Linked DNA regions of Homo sapiens: all the other regions are linked to region 2. The links are contacts of gene promoters, found by promoter capture Hi-C in human tissues and cell types (Jung and others, 2019). All regions are on one chromosome and are shown on one strand. The core of a region is centred on a gene start or on the middle of the fragment in contact, and the rest is flanking DNA. Distances in the headings are between cores, read along the strand shown. Region 1 overlaps CRMP1 (collapsin response mediator protein 1). Region 2 holds the start of TMEM128 (transmembrane protein 128). Region 3 overlaps EVC (EvC ciliary complex subunit 1).

The links. The method cuts DNA at HindIII sites, captures the fragments that hold promoters and counts their contacts. A contact is called where the count stands out against the background at its distance.
Region 1: a contact is called between a fragment that was not itself captured here and the fragment with the promoter of TMEM128 in region 2, in 1 of the 25 tissues and cell types used here (dorsolateral prefrontal cortex).
Region 3: a contact is called between a fragment that was not itself captured here and the fragment with the promoter of TMEM128 in region 2, in 1 of the 25 tissues and cell types used here (mesenchymal stem cells).

Annotation. Positions count from the first base shown.
Region 1 is chr4:5,880,253-5,883,309 of GRCh38, forward strand. All of the region lies in intron 1 of CRMP1 (collapsin response mediator protein 1), which reads right to left. Among named protein-coding and RNA genes, the nearest start is that of CRMP1, 11 kb to the right of the region's middle. The HindIII fragment of the contact is 3,703 bases long and covers 1-3,057 here.
Region 2 is chr4:4,246,679-4,249,553 of GRCh38, forward strand. It overlaps TMEM128 (transmembrane protein 128), which reads right to left and starts at 1,545. Exons shown (of 5, transcript NM_001297551.2): 1 at 1,428-1,545. The coding sequence starts at 1,524. RefSeq lists enhancers at 887-1,513, 1,816-1,925. The HindIII fragment of the contact is 14,953 bases long and covers 1-2,875 here.
Region 3 is chr4:5,748,208-5,751,090 of GRCh38, forward strand. It overlaps EVC (EvC ciliary complex subunit 1), which reads left to right. Exons shown (of 21, transcript NM_153717.3): 8 at 1-99. Among named protein-coding and RNA genes, the nearest start is that of EVC, 38 kb to the left of the region's middle. The HindIII fragment of the contact is 5,077 bases long and covers 1-2,883 here.

The DNA.
Region 1 (3,057 bases), core at 515-3,014, 1.6 Mb after region 2:
TTTTCCTTCCTCCTTAATTGTACAACATAAAATTTTACATAATTTAAAAGTTCGATTCAACGTTGAGGTTATAGAAATCAAACATTTGCTGAGATTTTATTAGACCTTAAGCCCTAAGGGTCTATGGATATGGTATGATTTAAAAATACATGGCAACATAATTTGGGGGCAGGTTCAAAATTTCCTCAAATAGCCACCTTTTTGCTGTATGTAATTCTGCATCAGATCCAATGAGTCTTCCCATGGAATTGACTCCAAGTTCCAACACCAGGTCATTATTTACTCAAGGCCCTGGGCAGAGCACAAGATGTGCAATGTGACGATCCCACTTGTGTGTAAAAAGTACCTTTTGCAAAAGCTTCCCATTCCATGTGAAATGCAGCGAAGCCCATTACTAAACCAGATCTGCCCTCTCCCCATTGTCAAAGCACCACTTCAGGGGCCCCCACACCTTCTTTTCGCTTTGAGCTCCAAAACTCCTCATGCCACCTTCATCTCATTCTGCATAGTAACTACCTTCATGTTAAATCCACAGACAGTGCCTTGTTAAGGAAGACTAAATGCAGCTGTGGCTGAAACCTCACTCAGCAAGGAAGTCCACAATCTTGCTCCCATTCACTCACTCACACAGTGTGGCATCCCCACTGTGAATCCCCAGTGTTCCTGAAGGGCTCCTGAGGAGAATCAGACAATTTCCCAGTCTTCCAAGTATCCATGGTCAAGCGGAGCAGATGGACATGAGCAACAAGCCAAAGTTACTGAAATTGAAGTGCTCACCACCCCCAGCCCAGGAGGAGGAATCCTTTATAGAGAATGGACACAGCTGATACAAAGGCAGAGGGCCACACATGGTGTGCCAGGTCAAGGCGAATGCTCTGGATGCCTGGGACACAGGCCCAAGGAAGGAGTGGGGAACTACAACCTCATATATCCACAAACATTGCTTTCTTCCTTTTAGCTGCTTGCTCTTGTTTTCTAGACAACTTCTCTATGAAGCATCCAAGATCCCACTCCACTTCCCAAACTACCAACACCAATTCAGAGTTGTTTCTTCTCAGAGCAAAGCTATGATTTGGTCATTACAGCTCTCTAGGGCAATGGTTCTCAACCTTACTGTACTCAGGACATACTTTCAAATCATATAAAATTTTGCAGCATTCTTGAAGGATTAAAGACCTAAAATTACACCAGGTAAGTCTGCAACCATCACCATGCCCTCCCACTGCAGTGTGACTGTAGCTGTCTTACAGGTCTATCATAGCTCTGATTGCACTTGGTTACCATTCAGCACCGTGGTGCTGTCCACTGCCCCGACCATGTTCTTTTATATGCTCTCACGGCAAAGTCCTCCGGTGTTCCTCTTCCATGGCAAGAGCTGACTTTTACTTACAGCAAATTAGACTCTATTCAACATCTCTCTGCTTGTGAATACTCAGGGCTCCACCTGAGAGATGCTACAATAATTTGTAGACTTGGTTGTAGCAAACATAAATTTTAAACGCTGATCAAAATTTAGCCACACATCGGCAGAGAATTTTTTTGAGTACACCACTGTGCTCACAGCACACAGGCTGAGAACCACTGGTTGTTGAAATAGCTTGCATTTTTCTGTCTTCTACCAATACCTTTTGTACATGGGCCCCTAATATCTATCTCTGTCCTTTGCCTCTCACCCTCATTCCAATCTATTCCTTATTGTCCATTGAGACACCTCAATTTCGAGCTTGCTACCAAATCCAATACAACCTAAGAACCAATGGTGGGATTTTTCTTCCAAACCCAATCGCTGTGCTTCCTGACCACCTCATTATCAGCTTCCACGGGTGTGTATTAGCATCTTTTACATGTCAGAACTTTCACATTCAATCCTCACATCTCCTCTAGAAAGACTGACTTTGTGCTTCTCTCCCACCGATTTAGAGCTTGATCATACAACTTGCTTTGGCCAGTACACTATCAGCAGATGTGAAATATGCTACATTTGAGTAGAAGTTCTTAAAGATATTTCAGGTTGCTGCCAATCTCTTGTGCTTTTCTTCTCCTTCAGCCTGGGTCTCAAAGTGAGGAGATGCACAGAGCAGACTCACTACCCACCAGTAAACAGGGGCAAAGTTACAGCCAACCCACAGCCCTCATGTAGCATGAGCAAAAAATAAGTGTATATTGTTGACACCTTGGGGTTGTATGCTATGGAGCAAAGCTAATACACCATCCCACGGTAATAATAATAAGAGCTAATCCACATTGCATTTAATATGTGCAGGCACTATTTTAAGCATCTTACACATATTAAGTCATTTAATTCTATGGGGAAAAAATCTTAGGAAATATCATTCTGATTTCCAAACATAAATCTGTACAGATAAAATTGATGCATAGAAAGAATAAGTGACTTGTCCAATTACATAGCTAGTAAGTAAAACAGCCAGGATTCAAAGCCAGATAGTCTGAGTTCAGAATCCACATTCCTACAAGCTGCTTTCATAATAACAGCATCTTACCTCAAGAACTTCCAGTGCCTTCCTATTAACCAAAGAAGAAGATCAGAGTGGCCTAGAACTTGGAACTGAATTATCTAATCCAACTCTCCCTGTCCAGAAAAGGAATCCGAGGCCCAGGGAGAGAAAGTGACTTGCTCAACATCAAATAACCCATTCATATCTAAGACACACTTAGAACCCACGTGTTATTTCCATCCCCTTGGGTGCATTCTCCCTGATTTCCAAAGCTTTATAGAATCCCCCCATAGCCCCACCCATTCACATGTATTTCCACTTCTGCGTCCTCTGATTCACCTGTGTGAAATATTCCACCCACCTTGCATGCCCTTCCCTTCCCTCAACCAATCAAGTCCCTCAACACCTGGCTGATGTCATCCTCCAAACCCCAAGAAGCCATCTCTTGTTGCTTCTGCCAGGGCTGAGTCATCTCTTCTCTGAATTCCTCTGACACCTGTGCCCTGTTCCGCAGCCTGCCTGCTTTCCTTCCTTCCTTCCTTCCTTCCTTCCTCCCTCCCTCCCTCCCTTCCTGTCTTTCTATCTTTCTCTTTCTTTCTTC
Region 2 (2,875 bases), core at 295-2,794:
TAGGAAAAATGCCAAAGGCAAACATTAGCGCATGAACTGGACTTGTGGTCTTCCAAGAACACTTTTATAACTAAATTTTTTTTTTTTGAGTCGGAGTCTTCCTCTGTCGCCCGGGTTGGAGTGGAATGGTTTGATCTCGGCTCACTGCAACCACCGCCTCCCGGGTTCAAGCAATTCTCCTGCCTCAGCCTCCCGAGTACCTGGGATTACAGGCGCCTGCCACCACGCCGGGCTAATTTTTGTATTTTTAGTAGAGACGGGGTTTCACCATCTTGGCCAGGCTGCTCTATTTGGCCAGGTTGGTCTCGAACTCCTGACCTCGTGATCAGCCCGCCTCAGCCTCTCAAAGTGCTGGGATTACAGGCGTGAGCTACCCTGCCCAGCCTATAACTAAATATTTTAGTTACTTTAAACACAGCTCAAAAGTGGAAACGGCACACCAGAGCTCTAGTTCCAGCACAGCACTGTCTAGACAGGTGATGGACAAGACATTTTTCCTGTCTGGAACGCAATCTGAAAGAATGGGTGGATGGGGGTTGGGTCAGATGGATGATTTCTATTAAGTTTTCCGGGGATTCTGACATGCCCTCTAGGTTCACGTGAGAATCAATGGTCCACATCTGAGGTTTTGGGCCTTTAGATGACCATCGGAAACCCTGGGAAGCATGTTCGTAATATTCTGGGATATCCTCAAAATGTATACATCATCATGCCTGGGCATGAGGTTATTCGTGTTTTTAATTTTAAAAGGTAATAAATGGACGTGGTTTTAAAACATATGAGATAAAAAATATCCAAAATGAAGTATCTGTCTCCCATCCTTAACCTCAGATCTAATCCCCAGAAGCAACCACCACTTACAATTTCTACTGAATTCTTCCATATTCTATGCATTCACAGGTGAACATACATCACAAGTTACCTGTTTTGTACCCAAATGGCGGCATACCATAGTGTTCCACACTTCCCTTTGAAAATCATCCCCATTGGTACATACGAGTCGACCTGATGTGTCAGGTATACATATACCCAAATTTACTTAAACAGCTTTCTGCTGACGGGCAAGGCAGATATTTCCAGTAATTCGCTATTACAAGCAATCCTGAAGTGAAACACTGCGCACATCATTGTACACTGCGGTACACGCATGTTTCTGGTAAATCCTTAAGACTTAAAACTGGTGGGTATTTTTAATTTTAATCGCTATTTCCAAATAGGTGTCAAATCAGCTCTCCAGAGAATTCTGAAGCGCAGCTGAAATGACGATGCACAGCACTCCGCGATTCTAAGGATCTTCCCTGACATTAAATATTCGACTTGCAAAGCCGAAACTCAGTCCTTCCAGACTGGGCCAGGGCTGCCGGAGGCCGGCCGTTTTCCGACGCCTCGCCTCTGAGAACCTCGGGGCGGCTTGGTGCGCGCCTCACCCGGCCCGGCGTCACCCTCGCGGTCCAGCTGGGCCTCGGCGTCCGGCAGGAGGAGGAATCGCCGCCGGAGCTGCTGCCGGGCCCGCGAGGAGTCCATCTTGGTACCGCCCCGAAATGCGACGGAAGTGACGTCAGACACAGCGCTTCCGGCGTCCGCTCCGGGTCTGGACCTCCTGGCGTTTGGATTGGAGACTGTGTTCTCTTCGCTGTTTAGTTAGCGAGCAGCTAGGGTGGAGTCGGCCTCAAAGGTTCCGCTCTCATGTCGGCAAGTGTGATTTGAATTTTAAAACACTGAGCTTTGCCGGTGGAAGAGTTCCCAAGTTTATTCCGACCTACGGAAGCCCAGGAGGACCAGGATTACCGCTGCCGCTGGATGCGTCCAGGGCCGGGATGCGCGACCGTGAGACGCTGCGCTTCCGAAGCCCTCGCAGGCTTCCGGGTGCCAGAGCAGGAGACATACCCTCTGTCCAGCCTTCCACTCTCAGCCCCCAGTTTTTTTCCTACTTTTGCTTTTCAGGAGTCGTCCAGCAAGACTTGAAAGGAGGAGAAAGGCCTGCTGGACAGGATGCTAGAGCCTGGCAGTGACCACTTGGGGGCCCTGGGCATTAAATAAACTTCTTGGGGCCCGTTTCGTTATTACACTTGGCTCTAGATTTGTTGTGCGTTTCAGTGAGAAGTACCTGTATGTGGTTCATGTGAGCCTCCTCCTCGCCACTTGTGAAAAATCCTCCCAGCCTGAACCGAGGGAACTAAATTGCTTTCCCAGCAAACTGCGGTTTTCCACACTGCTCACGCCCACAAACTGTGTGTTACGAGTTCACAACTTTTTCTTCGTCAATAATCCCGCGTATTACTCTCCCAGCCGTTTCCCAGCGTGTCATGTGCTGAGAAATGGTGGGCTTAGCCACGCAAACGTTTACTGAGCATCTACTATTTGGTAGGAGCTGTTAGGCACCATGCTAGCAGTGGAGATAAAGATGAGTAAGACATGGCCTTGCACGTGAGGAGCTCCTTGTCCAAAGAAAACCACAGAGGTATATTACAAGAAAACTCTATTTGTAAATGTATGAAAGCATTTCATCAATGCAGCCAACATTTTCTGAGCAGCTGCATGTGATAAAATGGTGAGGACAGAAGAATCTAGTAGAGGAAGCAGCTTCAATACAGTGCCATAATAAAAACACTGTACATGGGGCATAATAGAAACACTGTACATATAAAGGGCAGTTTATTCTGCTGCAGTGTGGGAGAGCAGGGAGAGTGGTTTCAGGTGAGTTGAATACAGGGGTGGAGAGCCAGCTACATAGGAAGTAAAATTTGAATTAGTAGGCACTGTTTAATATCTTCGATGTGTTGGGGTGTTTGTAAAAGGAATGTAATAAGAAATACTCAAGAAAAGAGTGCCAGCCGCGCGCGGTGGCTCACGCCTGTAATCCCAACACTTTGCG
Region 3 (2,883 bases), core at 40-2,539, 1.5 Mb after region 2:
TGTTCCAGCTCCAAAGCCCGACAGCTGATGATGACTCTGACGGAAAGAATGATTGCAGCCGAAGGGCTATTGTGCGATTCTCAGGAGCTGCAGGCTCTGGTAATGCTGGAGGGGGCGGGAGGGAACATAAAGATATTCAGACTAGAGATATGGAATCCTGAGGCTTGACATCCTTAAATCTAACAGATTCATGTTGTAGCTGGTTATATAGAGCCTCAGGGAAAAAAAAACCAACAACAACAGTAAATTCATTCATCCATTTATTTATTTATCCATCCATCCACCCATCCATCCACCCATTGACCCTTCCATCCATCCATCCATCTACCCATCCATCCATCTGCCCTCCCACCCATTTATCCATCCATCCATCCACCCATCCATCCATCCATCCACCCATCCATCCACCCACCCATCCATCCATCTGCCCTCCCACCCATTTATCCATCCATCCATCCCTCCATCCATCCATCCACCCACCCATCCATCCACCCGTCCACCCATCCACCCACCCACCCATCCACCCATCAATCCACCCATCCATCCATTTACTCATCCATCCATCCATCCACCCATCCATCCATCCATCCATCCATCCGTCTATCCAATGAGTGAAGGCTCTGGCCAGCTCAGTATTACTGGAGCATAGAACACTGGTCCTAAACCTGAAATTACACATTGAAATTATCTGGGAGCTTTAAAAAGTACTGATTCTTGGGCCCCAGATGGGTCTCCATCCCAGAGTTTCTGACTTAATCAGATTGGGGTGCAACCTGGCTGGGCATTGGGGTTTTTAGAGCTCCCCAATGACGATGGTGGGAGCTGGGGTTGACGCCCACTGGTGTAGACAGAGCATTGATTGACTTTCCTGATTGCCCTGTTTTGCCTGCAGAGTTCTTTAACAATGCCTTTTCCTGGCCTTCACTCTGAGGTTCTAATATGATTGGTCTGGAGTGGAGGCCCTGGCATTGTGGGTTTTAAAACTCCCTGAACTATTCTGACGGGAGGCCAGGGATACAAACCCCTGGTGCATGGGTGTCCAACCTTTTGGCTTCCCTGGGCCACATTGGAAGAAGAAGAATTGTCTTAGGCCACACATAAAATACATTAACACTAACGATAGCTGATGAGCGGAAAAAAAAAAAAAAAAAAAGGTCCCTCCTTATTTTTGTGAAGCCTGCCAACCACAGATAAGCAAAAAAGTCCTCACATTCAAAGGGTTGGACACCCGTGGGAGAGAAATCTGCGAATCCAGCTTTGACTCTGGGCTCTGTTGTTTGGAGCTGTGTGATCTTGAACACATTACTTAACCTCTCTGCGCGTCTGTTCCTCTATTTATAAAATAATAGTGCTAAGAGTTGCCACAGACAGGGCCTGGCTAGATGCTGAGTGACTCCTAACACCCCAGTCACCATTGGGTTCCTCTTGGTACACATTGGGCTCATCCTGTGTGCGCCAGTGTGTACTAGGGCCAGGGAACGAGCCCTCTGATGCTGCCCTGCACCCATTTCCCCGTCCTGTGCACCAGCCCGTGTGGCAGCTCGGCTCAGAACCCTGCAGTGGCCACCCTGCCCTCAGCACAGACTCAGCTCCTCAGACCCGTGGGAAAGCCAAGCCTCAACGGATCTTTGCCTCCCCTTGCACACCACATGCCTCTCCCAATCCGCTCTGCTCCTCCAGGTGTGATCCACAGACCACAGCATCGGCAACACTGGGAGCTGGTTAGAGTGCAGAATCCTGTCCTCCACCCTTCCCAAGCAGGATCTGCACTTTAACAAGACCCCCACATCCACACAGTTGTTTGAGAACTTCATGTGCTTTTTCTCGGTATATACACACATGGCCTTTTTTTTCTGTCAACACTGCCGAAAGATAGGTATGGAAGATATTTTATTCACAGCACGCAGATAAGGAGCCCACTCAGTGATCCACCTAAGATCCCCGTCCTCTCTAATGACATCGCTGAGCCTGGGCCTGAAGCTTCCTGGTTTGCTGCCCAAGCCCCTTTGAATTGGATTTCAGTTTGATAAGGCTGCTGACTCATTAATGCTCTGCAAAGGTGAAAGACTTTTCTTCCTATATTTTTTTCTTTTGCTATCAGCAGGATATTGATGCAGAAAAAAGAAAATACATCCTTAGCTGACTCTGGCCAGAGTATCAGCCAATAACTTCCAAATAGGAAGAAGGAAAGGGATCCTCCAGTTTAACAGCATGACTGTCCTTCAGCCAATGTTTAATGAGCACCTACTGTGTAGCACATGCTGTTCATGGAAACCATATTGCAGAGGTTAGGAATGCAGGCTCAGGGAAGAAACTGGAGCTCCCACTGCAGTCTTGCCACTCGTTAGCTGTGTGATCTTGGGCAGATAATTTAACCTCTCTGTGATTTGGTTTCATTTTCTGTGAAATGGGGGCTATGATAGCACCTGCTCTCTCACAGGGTAGTTGAGGGTGTTAAAGACTTGGCAGTATGTAAAGTTTTTAGAGCAGAGCCCGGCACGTAGGAAGCATTCAGTACTTGTTAGTCATTAGAGTCCTGCAGGCCACATGTCAGCAGGAGAAATAGACAGCAAAAAATTACTGTAATGATGCATGGACAGGGCTACACAGTCTATGTTTGTATAGAAGAGGGATGGATTCACTATGCCTGCATACCGGGCACCAAAGGGAAAAAAGATGGCTTCCGTATCTCAGAACACAGAAGAGTTGGAATTCCCAGGGCGGCATCCCATCTTTCTGGCCTGGGCATTTGGAGCTGAAATGTGCATCTGTAAATATTAAAACTGGAAGAGCCCTTCAAAGGGACCCTGACGGTCATCAGATTCAGTTTCTTGAGACTCACAGGAAAAAAAACAGCTGCCAAGACAGATGGGACTGGCTGTA